2 separate regions of the Homo sapiens genome follow, and region 1 is linked to region 2. Evidence: promoter capture Hi-C in human tissues and cell types (Jung and others, 2019). All regions are on one chromosome and are shown on one strand. Each heading gives the region's core, a stretch centred on a gene start or on the middle of the fragment in contact. The rest is flanking DNA. Distances are from core to core; before and after follow the strand shown.

Region 1 (6,239 bases), core at 1,522-4,021, 340 kb before region 2:
GCTTTAAGAATAGACTAGACCAAGTGGAAGAAATAATTTTAAGCTGGAAGACAGGTCTTTTGAATTTATGTAGCCAGACAAAAATAATGAAAAAAAATTTTTTAATTAACAAAGCATTCCAATACAAGAAATATGCAACTATGTAAAGCGGCCAAACATGAGTCACAGCTATTCCTGAGAGAGAATAAGTAAAAATAAAAAGTTTGGAAAACCTATTTGAGGGAATAATTTAGGAAAAATAGTCTGGTCTTGCTAAAGATTTAGACATCCAGATACAAGAAGCTCAAGAAATAGCTGGAAGATATATTGCAAAATGAACTTCACCAAGACATGTCATCATCAGACTACCCAAAGTCAATACGAACAAAAACATTCTAAAATCAGCAAGAGAGAAGCATCTAATAACTTACAAAGGAACCCCGTAATACTAGCAGTAGACTTTTCAGCAGAAACCTTACAAGCCAGAAGAGACTGTGGTCATATTTTCAGCCTTCATAAAAAATACATGAATAAAAATAAAATAAAAAACTGCTAGCAAAGAGTTTTGTATCCTACTAAACTAAGCTTCATAAATGGGGGAAAAATAAAGTCTTTTCCAGACAAGCAAATGCTAAGGGAATTTGTCACCACTAGCCCATATCTACAAGAAATGCTCAAAAGAATCCCAAGCGTGGAAACAAAAGGGCAACACTTGCTGTCAAAAAAAAAAAAAAAAAAAAAAAGGAAAGAATAAAACATTCTTAAAAAGCATTTACACAATTAAGTCCACACAGCAACTAGGTAACTATTAGTATTGTGACAGGACTAGAACCTCACAAGTCAATAGTAACCTTGAATGCAAATGAACTACATACTGCACTTAAAAGATATAGACTCATGGAATTAATTCTTTTAAAAAAAGATCAAGCCATATGGTGTTTACAAGAAACCCACCTAACTGGTAAAGATATTCATAAAGCCAAAGTCTGCAATTTTTCCTCAAAGGGCTGGAAAAAGATATTCCATGCAGACAAAAATAAAAAGCGAGCAAGAGTAGTTATATAACATAAAGCAGGCTTTAAATCAACAACAGTAAAAATAGATGAAAGGGTCATTATATAATGATAAAAGGATTAATTCAATAAGATGTAACAATCCTAAATGCTTATGCACCCTATACCAGAGCACTCAGATCTATAAAACAAATACTACTAGTACTAAGAAAAGAGATGGATCACAGTACAATAATGGTGGGGGACTTCAACATCCCACTGAGAGCACTAAACATTATCAAGAAAGAAAATCAACAAATAAACTCTGGACTTAAATTGGACTCTAGACCAAATGCACCTACTAGACATTTACAGAACACTTTACATAACAATTGCAAAATATACATTCTTCTTATATATGAATGGAACATTCTCCAAAATAGATTATATGACAGGCCACAAAGCAAGTCTCAATACATTTTAAAAAACATCAAAATCATGTCAGGAGTCTTCTCAGACCACAGTGGAATAAAACTGGAAATTAATACCAAGAGGAACTCTGAAAACTAAACAAACACATTGAAATAAAACAACCTAGTCCTGAATGATCATTATGTCAATGATAAAATTAAGACAGAAGTTTTTTTGTTTAATATTGTAACAAATGAAAATACAAACAAAATATATCAAAAATATCAATACAAATACAAATACAATACAAAATACAAACACAATATATCAAAACTTCTGTGGTACAGCAAAAGCAGTGCTAAGAGGGAACTTTATAGTGTTAAATGCCTAGATCAAAACGATAGAAAACGCTCAAATTACAAACCCAATGTCACACCTCAAGGAACTAGAATACCAAAATAAGCTAACCGAAAGTTTTAAGAAGAAAAAAAAAAAACAAAGACGAGAGCAGAACTAAATGAAATTGAGACTAAAAATAAGGAACAAAGGATCGATGAAACAAAAAGTTAGTTATTTGAAAAATAAATAAAGTTGATAGACTGCTAGCTAGATTAACCAAGAAAAAGAGAAGAGTCAAATTAAGCATAACCAAAAATGATAAAGGTGACATTACAACTGATACCACAGAAATACAAATGATCATCAAAGGCTACTATGAGCATCTGTAGGTGCACAAACTAAAAAAATTATAAGAAATGAATGAATTTCTGAAAACATACAATGTAGCATTGTTGAACCAGGAAGAATAGAAATCCTCAAAAGACCAGGAATGAGTAGTGCAATTGAATCAGTAATAAAAAATCTCCTAACAAAACAAAGGCCAAGACCAGATGGATTCTCAGCCAAATCCTACCAGATATACAAAAAAGAACTGTTACCAATTCTACTGAAACAGTTTCAAAAAAATTGAGGAGAAGGGAATCTTTCCTAATTCATTTTACAAAGCCAGTATCAACTTGATACTAAGCCAGGAAAGGTCACAAGAAGAAGAAAGAAAACTACAGACCAATACCCCTAATGAATATAGATGCAAAAATCCTCAACAAAATTCTGGCAAAACCAATTCAACAGCACATCAGAAAGATAGTACACCATTATCAAGCGTGTTTTATCCCAGGGATGTAAGGATAATTCAACATGCACAAATCAATAAATGTGATTTACCACATAAAAAGAATTATAAACAAAAAGCTTCTGATCATCTCAATGATGCATAAAAAGCATTCAGTAAAATTCAGCATTGCTTAATGATAAAAACTTTCAACCAACTAGGCATTGAAGGAATATACATCAAAATAATAAAAGCCACATATTACAAACCCACAGCTAACATCACACTGAATGGGGGAAACCTGAAAGCGCTCCCCCTAAGAACTGAAACAAGTCAAGCGTGCCCACTTTCACCCAGCCATAATCCACACAGTACTGGAAGTTCTAGCCAGATCAATCAGGCAATAGAAGATAACAAAAGGCAGCCAAACTGCAAAAGAGCAAATCAAATTATCTCTGTTCGCTGATGATAAAATCTTGTACCTAGAAAACCCTAAAGACCCTTCCAAAAAATTCCCAGATTAGATAAATAACTTCGGCAAAGTTTCAGAATACAAGTAACATGTACAATAATCAGTAGCATTTCTATATGCCAGTAACAATTAAGCTAAGAGCCAAATAAAGAATGCAATCTTATTTACAATAGCCACAAAAATAAAATAAAATACCCAGCAATGCATTTAACCAAGAGGTAAAATATCTCTACCAGGAGAACTACAAAACACTAATGAAAGAATTTGCAGATGATACAAACAAATGAAAAACATCCCATGCTCATTAATTAGAAAAATCAATATTTTTAGAATGAACATACTCCCCAAGACAACCACCTACAGACTCAACAGAATTCCTATCAAATTACCAATGTTTTCTTTTTAATTTTTTATTTCCATAGGTTTTGGGGGAACACATTGTATTTGGTTACATTGGTAAGTAATTATAGTGGTGATTTGTGAGATTTTGGTGCACCCATTACCTAAGCAGTATATACTGAACCCAATTTATAGTCCCTCGCCTCTCCCACCCTTTCCCTTGAGTCCCCAAAGTTCATTTTATCTTTCTTATGCCTTTGCATCCTCATAGCTTAGCTCCCAATTATGAGTGAGAACACACAATGTTTGGTTTTCCATTTCTGAGTTATTCACTTAGAATAATAGTCTCCAGTTCCACCCAGGTTGCTGTGAATTTTTAAAAAATCTTAATGTTCACATGGAAACAAAAAGGAACCTGAATAGCCAGAGCTATCCTAAGCAAAAAACTAAACCTCGAGGCATCATATTACCTGACTTCAAATTATACTACTAGAATACTATAGTAACCAAAACAGCATGATACTGATATAAAAATAGACACATAGATCAATGGAACAGAATAGACAACACAGAAATAAAGCTACATATCTACAATCAACTGATCTTCAACAAAGTCAACAAAAATACACACTGAAAAATAAACACCCTATTCAACAAATGGGGCTAAGAAAACTGGATAGCTATATGCAGAAGAAGGAAACTGGACCCCTATTCCTCAACATATATAGAAATTAACACAAGATGAACTAAAGACTTAAATGTAAGAACTGAAACTGTAAAAATCCTAGAAGAAAACCTAATAAAACTCTTCCGGACATCGAGCGAGGCAAAGAATTTATGACTAAGTTCTCAAAAGCAAACACAACAAAAACAATAATAGACAAATAAGACTGAATCAAACTAAAAGCATCTGCACAGAAAAATTAATAATCTATGTATTATTAGGTTGTAAACAGACAACCTACAGAATGGGGGGAAATATTGGCAAACTATGCATCCAACAAAAGGCCAATATCCAGAAGCCACAAAGAACTAAAACAGCTCAGCAAGCACAAAACAAGCAATTCTATTAAAAAGTGAACATATATTTTTCAAAAGAAGACACACAAGCAACCAGCAAACATTTTAAAAAAAAGTTTGACATAACTAATCATCAGAGAAATGCAAATTAAAACCACAGTGAGATACCATCATACACCAGTCAGAATGGCTATTATTAAAAAGTCAAAAATAACATGTGTTGGTGAGGATGCAATGAAAAGGGAATGGTTACATGCTGTCAGTGGAAATGTAAATTAGTAAAAACCTCTATGGAAAACAGTATAAAGATTTCTCAAAAAAACTGAAAATAGAGCTATCATTCTACACAGCAATCCCCCTGTGGGGTATCTACCGAAAGGAAAAGAAGGCATTATATAAAAAAGACTCCTCCACATCTATTTTTAATACAGCACTATTCACAATAGCAAATTTATGAAATCAACCTAGGTGTCTGTCAGCAAACGATTAGATAAAGATGTGGGGTGTGTTCGTGTGTGTGTGTGTGTGTGTGTGTGTGTGTGTGTGTGTGTACATCATGGAACATTACTCAATTATAAAAAAAGAATTAAATCGTGTCTTCTGCAGCAACATGGATGGGCTGGAGGCCATTATCCTAAATGAAATAACTCAGAAACAGAAAGTTAAATGCTGCATATTCTCACTTATAAGTGGGAGCTAAACAATGAGTACACGTGGACACACAGAGTGGAATAATAGACATGAAGGCTCTGAAAGATGGGAGCATGGAAGGGGGTGAGGGTTGAAAAATTACCTATTGAGCACAATGTTCACTATTTGGGTGATGGTTACACTAAAAGCCAGATTTCACCACTATGCAATGTATCCGTGTAACAGAACTGCACTTGTACTCCCTAAATTTGTATAAATAAAAATTTTTTAAAATAAAGCATACGTATGTTTGCCTTTTAACTGAATTTGTAAACCTGTGTAATATAAATCAATGAAGAAAGAAAATATTCTCAATATTTGCTAAATAAATAAATGCTTCAAATAATTTGTGAAAGGTCATATCCCATAATATGCACTGAGCATTAAAAATTAGCTGCACATGCTGAAAACATGTAATGATTTCTGTTCTCATATATAAAAATTTGTTTTTAGTATCTCCCTACTTTTAGCTCTTTTGGGTTAAAACTAAAATACATTTGGTTCAATTTAGCTTTCATTAAGACATTATTTTAGCTGAGTGTCTTGAATAAATAAATGGAGATTTGAAAGAGATAGATAATAAATTAGGGCTAAAAACCACCGATTCCTAATTATATGTGCAGATATCCTCACTACACACATAATTAGGAAGATGTCCTATATAATATGCATAGATTCTAACTTCCTTGGAAGTTATATCCTCTGGAAATTTTTATCATTCTTTACGCTAACAATTAAGGTAAAGAATATTTAAATAATATGCAAACAGGTAGTGTAGATTTTAATATGATCATATCAATGGAAACAGGATAAAAACTTTTATATCAAAAAATGAATTTATTAAAAATGTTCAAAACACCGTGCTTGATGCTGCATTAGTGGTGGGGGTAGCAATAGTAAATAAAGTGTGAACAAGAACCCCAAGGAACACATTCACTGAGGAAAAAAAGATAATTCTATGAAAGTCACTCCATTTAATATTTATAGATTTTAGAAGGGGATCAGAATGGTGATATAAATATTAAAACATTATGTGGAGACATGTAGTTAAAATGATTCTATATGTTCACAATTGGACATAGCTTTTCTCCTCTAAACATTTAGTATTGATAGAAAAAGATTTAAAAAACAAAAGAGCTTCTAAAAATAGATGAACATCCTGGGGAAGAAAGAAAACAAATTCAAGCAATGATTTGGCTGAAGACATATGCCTGCTGTACTAGGG
Region 2 (6,601 bases), core at 3,680-6,179:
GCAGCTTAACAGTGTCATTAATTACTATAAAGTCCAGGCTGAAGATTTTTAAAGAAATTGTAATCTTATAGCTTATTAGCTGTTTCAGGTTAGAAATACTAACATGTCCTATATAAATACTTGTACTTTTTAATATTTGTCATAATAGAATAATATATGGCTTTAAACTAGACATTGAAAAATAGAAGAGACCTCTGGAAATTGAAATTAGTTTCCCAAAAGTCTTTTATAATCAGCACCCTCCACATAGAAGCATTTAGATAAAGGACAAAAAACCATCAAAAGATATAAATAATTTTTAACTTATATAAAGCATAAGTTATTAAATCTCTACATCACCATGAGTTGCTATTCAATGCCTTTGGCCTCAGTGACTAAATACAAGGATGATTTCAATATTAAAAGTACAAGTTTTACTCTTTTTTCTTCTTTTTAATGATTTCTTTTTTCTTTTCTTTTATCTTCTTTTTTTTTTTTTTTTATTTTTTTTGAGATGGAGTCTAGCTCAGCTGCCCAAGCTGGAGTGCAGTGGCACAATCTCGGCTCACTGTAATCACCATCTCCCGGGTTCAAGCTATTCTCCCGTCTCAGCCTTCCGAGTAGCTGGGATTACGGGCACCGCCATCATGCCTGGCTGATTTTGGTATTTTAGTAGAGACAGGGTTTTACTATGTTGGCCAGACTGGTCTTGAACTCCTGACCTCAGGTGATCCGCCTGCGTCGGCCTCCCAAAGTGCTAGGATTACAGGCGTAAGCCACCACGCCCACCCCTTTTTAATGATTTCTATAGGGATGTAATTTACAAGCAGATGCTTCCTTTTGTGTCTGAAGCTGGGATGCTAATAAAAATATTTCATATTGTTTCAAGGCTTCTCAGAGTTTAGCAATAGTTGAGCCTCTTCCATTTTTTGAGATTCTCAGTATTTATGTAAATAGTAATAACAGAAATGCCAAAGGTGGTTACAAAAACTGTAGTATATCCCAAAAGGTTAAACTAAACATAATCAATTGATCCTATTAAAAAAATATTGCACAAGTTCAGTCCGGGCACGGTGGCTCACGCCTGTAATCCTAACACTTTGGGAGGCTGATGCAGGTGGATTACCTGAGCTCAGGAGTTAGAGACCAAGCTGGGAAACACTGTGAAACCCCGTCTCTACTAAAATAGAAAAAATTAGCTGGACATGGTGGCATGTGCCTGTAATCCCAGCTACTTGGGAGGCTGAGACAGGAGAATCGCTTGAACCTGGGAGGCAGACATTGCAGTGAGCCAAGATCGTATCACTGCACTCCAGCCTGGGCAACAGAGTAAGACTCCATCTCAAAAAAAAAAAAAAAAAAGAATATATATATATATATATATATATACATATATGTATTGCACAAGTTCATTTGGAGATGACTCTATTTGAAGTGCTTCACAAATGTCTGGCCCTGAATCAGATGGCCTTCTCCACCTCTACTTGGGCACTGCCACAGTGTTAGACTAAATAGGAATACCTCTCTGGAGGAAAATTTTTCGCTGGCCTTAATGTCCCTGGGTTAGGAACAGAAGATTGGAAGGGAGGGCTACAGGGGGCAATGGTTGGCCCTGATGTCTGTCCCTTCTTACCTCTCTGCTGGGCACGCAGCCCAGGAGTGAAAGGAAATATAGGCAACATATCAATCTGCTATTACACTGGCTTAGACGACATATGTGTGCAGATGAGGACTTCTCTAATAGAGGTGTAAGATTTGAGGATCTCATAGGAAAAGACAGCATGATCCTAAGCTGTTTGTAATTCCAGATGGATGGTTGGAAGGAGCAGTAGCTGGTAAAGGTAACAACTCTCCCAAAAACAATGAGAAATTTGATTATGTCTCCTATCCATCTTAGCTGAAGAAAACCCCAAAATACAGTCATAAGAATAGTAAGTATCTTATTTTGTAGAAGAAGTTTTTCTGGTTTTGTGTTTTTGTGCAGAGGAGGTAGAAAAAGAAAAGAAAAAGTGAATATCATTTCTGAATCTGCCTACATTCCCTGAAACATTTAGGAATTTATGAATTCATGAATCTTGTCTATTCTCTGAAATCTTGTAGAAGAGCCTGACCTCCTACAGCTATATCAATATAAGCGACTGAAGGGCAGAGAGTGGTCCTGCTTTTCTTTTTTCAATATTATTGTATTCCCAGAGCCATTTAGTAGGTGTTCAATAATTTTTTTGATTACTAAAATGATGAATGCATGGCTGCTCGGAAGACAGAGCAGGCTCTCTCTTGGGTAAGGAGTACATAGAAAAATAAATGTGGGTTCTTAAAATTCTTAAAAGGCACAAGACTTCCAGGGAACACTCCAACTAAAAAATAAATAAAACCAATCTAATACATGTTACTTGGCCAAAGAATTCTAGCATCCTGACATTTTTGTGGGCTTCCAGAAGGAGCAATTGGTTCAGTCACATCTGTAACCCCTCCATCACATAGAACAAAAAGGATATATAACTTCCTGATTTTAAAACACAATTCCAACTAACCCTTTCAGGACATTGGGTTCTAATTGAAGGTCTTGAACTACGAATCCAAATACCCTGATAAAGTTAATAAACAACCAGAATATTTAATTACTGTATCATCGTTTGTGTCTCTTTCAGTTTCAAGGGACAGCAAATGCAGTCCAAGCTGCCTTAAGACAAAAGTGAATGTGGCCAGTCGCGGTGGCTCAAGTCTGTAATCCCAGCACTTTGGGATGCCGAGGTGGGCGGATCTCGAGGTCAGTAAATCGAGACCATCCTGGCTTACACGGTGAAACCCCGTCTCTACCAAAATACAAAAAATTATCCGGGCCTGGTGGCGGGCTCCTATAGTCCCAGCTACTCGGGAGGCTGAGGCAGGAGAATGGTGGGAACCCGGGAGACGTAGCTTGCAGTGAGCTGAGATCACGCCACTGCACTCCAGCCTGGGCGACAGAGCGCGACTCCGAATCAAAAAAAAAAGTGAATGTATTTGTTTATGAATGAAAATATCCAGAGATAGAACTTATTTCAGCTACAGCTCGATTCCAAGCTCGAAAATCTCCATCTGGGTTTCACTTTTCTCCAACTCTCAGTTCTGCCTTCCTGAGTATCAGCTTTATTTTCAGACTTCAAGCTCTAAGCTCACATCTTCATTATGCAAAGTCCAGTAGAAGAGAGTCCACTTTCTTAAGAGAGGAAGGAAAAAAAAAAGTCCCAGAATGGTGGTTTTTTTCTGTTTTTCTCTCTGATTGGCCAGACCTGGGTTACATACCTACCCATGCTACCAGGACAGAAAGCCATCACTGGCCAGACCTGAGCTGTGGGTCTACCAGTGAGTCAGCAGCGGCTGACATCACCTAAAGCAAATGGGCTGCGGGGTGAGATCAAGTGGTTGGATCTTCCAAAATGAACAGGAGTACTGTTTCAACAAGAGTGAGTGCTGGGAAGCAAAACCACAAATGGCCAATACAAAGTATCATTAGTAGACCCCACTTAATACAATTCACATGTTAGTGGAACCAAATGAAATTTTTAAAAATATATATCATTCGATTCACACTTCTAATCAAACTATAGTTCTGGAGAGGGTAACCTCACACCTTGAATCCAAAATATCTCTTCAGTTGCTGGCCTTCCACTTGTCTTCAGGAGCTGAAACACATGGCATTTGAAAAAAACTGGCGAACAGAGGAAACTCTTGCAGCCTCGCAGCCGCCCTGGTCCAGTGCCAACGGCAGGAGCACCACAGGAAGGGACCGCGCGGGTGCGCCCCACCCTTCCAGCGTCGCCTCGGGGACTCGCACCCCTTTCCCTGGCCGCACAAGACGTTTCATCCTTGGCGGCCGCCGCCAACCCGCCGGGAGGGGCGGTCGGAACTGGCAGGCCGGGGCGGAACCCCCGGGGTCTCCTTGTCGAGGCCCGGGCAGCCAGATCCTCAGGGCCGGTCCGGGCGGGAGCCCGGTCGATGGAGGCGGCTCCCGTCCTCAGCTCCCGCTCCCTCCCCTTCCCCGGGGCGGGCGCGCGCGGGCCGGGAGCTGGGAGGCGGCGGCTCCCGCCCGGGAGGCGGTGGCGAGGGCGGCGGAGGCGCGGCCGGGCGGGTCCCAGGGCCGTGGTTCTCCAGCGCAGGAGTCCCCGGCGCACCCGCTGCGCTCGCCCCGCAGCCGCAGCCTGAGCGGCCGAAGTCGCCACCAGCTGTGTCCGCGCAGATCCCGGGCGCGGAGGGGAGAGGTCGCCCGCTTGTCGCCCCCGCCGGACCCCGGGCACCGCGTAGCACCCAAGCGCCACCCGGACGAGGGGCCCTGGGGAGCGGCTGAGGCCGAAGACCCGAGGGAAGGAGGAGCCCGCGGACGGCTGCAGCCCCAGGTAATCTCCATGGAGGACGGGGCCGGTCTCCTCGCCCAGAAACCCGATCCGGGCGCCTTGGAATGCGGACTCCAGAGGCGGCATCTCGACCAGACAAGTTTCTCGCGGCTTGGAATGAGGGAGTCCTGAAACCGACACTCGTTTTATTTAACCAGCTTTTTTCTCCTGTTTTAAATAAGTTTATTTAGACAATGGAAAGAAAAAAACAAACAGCCTCTTGAGTGACTGTGGGTTTGTAAATATAATCCTAAAAGTTTTTCATGGTGTGGTTATTTGCTTGCTCATATTTATTAACCTGTTAACTCTTCCGCTAGTCAGAAAATTGACATGTAAAATATTCTTTGAGGAACGTTACAAGTTTGCTGTTGTATTCGGGCATCCTGTTATTCATCAGCTTAGTTAGCATCTGTCTTCCCCCGAAGTGGTACCAAAGCCGGTCCCTTGGCGACGGGTCTTGCATGTGACACTCTTGCCCTCTAGTGCCTCACCAGCTTGGTAGCAGTTTGATGGCTAATATTAATAAGATGTTACATAACATGAGAGTACTGGGCCAGGACTGGTGTTGCTACCACTTGTAAAGTCAAAAAGCCTGAGCCGATGGTAACGAGTGGTACTGTTTCCGTTTCTTTTCCATCTATTGCAACTTTCTCAAGCATTTTCAGCTCTGAACTTTAATTCCAGGTAAGTGTATTTATTTATTTATACTGTGCATTAATGCCTCACTCATAAATGTAGGGGCTTTTAAGAGATAACAACTTTGCTTTCAAATAATCTAAAAATTTCAAGATTGAACAAGTGCTTCATTTTATTCTTGAAGAAGAAATATAGAGTATTTTGATTAAATTAAGTGAAACAAAGGACCGTCTCATTCAGGGATGATTTTAAAGCTTCCCTTTCATAAGATTATGGTACTAAAGAAATGACCTCTTGTAATTGTTTAAGATATTCACCAACTTATAATGATTCTGAAGTAGATCTGTTTAACAGAACACATGTCTGTTGCCTTGACAGAATTTTGTAAGGAATATCAGAGACTTTAAACTACCTGCCTATCTACACAGTAATGATCCTCAAAAGGCTTTCTATTTGATGCAGTTTATAGACATTATTTAAAACTATACAATTAATAAAATTAAATGGAAATGGAAAGAATCAATCTAGGTATCAAATACAGAAACTTTAAATTTAAAGAAAACAGATATATCTTCTATTTAATATATCCATTTTGTGGGGGCAGGTAAAAGCAAAGTTACATCTTTAAGGGGTTTACTCAGATCCTTTTTCAAATAGTTTTTCTAATAGCTGGATACTGTTTAAGCATCAGAGTTATTTAATGTCGAAAATGTATTAGTATCTATATTCTTTATAAACATATTGAAATATAGCAACATGTAATCTGGAAGAGTTTAGAAGAAAACCCTTCTAGACAATGCAAACAGCTACATTCTTAATACATTTGTATTAAATTAAAATACAAATCAAATATTGAGATGTGTGCAACTGATCTGGGACACACACTTTTTTTTTGTTTTTTTTTTTTGCCCTTAGAAAATTTCATGTTATCAACTACTGAGCAATGCTGTTCACCACCAGAGAGCAGGATGATATGGCAGAGAAACTCTAGAATATCCGATATTCAGCTGAAGGGAATTTTTTTCCCTTTTTCTTCATCCATACCTTCCTATCAATATTATATTTAAGATGGAGATTTCAAATATAAGTTTGAAGGAGGCTCCTTTTTAAAATAGTACTGAACATATAAAGAGGCTTGCCTAAGATAAGCTCTTTTTTTTCTTTCTCTGGTTAACACAGTATCTACCATTTCTAATTTTGTTATCATTTTTCTTTATCATCTTGATGGTAAAACAGAAGATTTGTTTCTTTGTGTAAATAATGTTAATTTTGAGCTTGTCACATGAGTTAATTTTCTTCATAGTCTTTAAAATGAAGAATTCTTACATTACTAAAATGTTTTAGATAAAATAAAACTTTTATCTCTTTCTGGAGATATTTGTTATAGTTTAGTTTGGTGGAGTTATATATACCCTCTTTTTAAATTAATTTTCTTGAGAAAAGCATTATTTCTGAACATTGAGGCAAATATTAATTTTTGGTGTAACTGAAAAGTTTGTTAAAAAATATATAGTAGAAGAGATAATCAGGCATTGGAGATTCTTTTTCTAAACCATATATTCTGCTAAAGAAGTTATTATAAGCTAAAATGTAAATATGTAATTGTCTACCTG

What was found. The method cuts DNA at HindIII sites, captures the fragments that hold promoters and counts their contacts. A contact is called where the count stands out against the background at its distance.
Region 1: a fragment that was not itself captured here is called in contact with the fragment with the promoter of NDST3 in region 2 in 2 of the 25 tissues and cell types used here (dorsolateral prefrontal cortex and mesenchymal stem cells).

The regions. Positions count from the first base shown.
Region 1 is chr4:117,693,455-117,699,693 of GRCh38, forward strand. No RefSeq gene overlaps it. Among named protein-coding and RNA genes, the nearest start is that of LINC02264, 140 kb to the right of the region's middle. The HindIII fragment of the contact is 7,205 bases long and covers 1-6,239 here.
Region 2 is chr4:118,029,557-118,036,157 of GRCh38, forward strand. It overlaps NDST3 (N-deacetylase and N-sulfotransferase 3), which reads left to right and starts at 4,930. Exons shown (of 14, transcript NM_004784.3): 1 at 4,930-5,036. The HindIII fragment of the contact is 9,214 bases long and covers 1-6,601 here.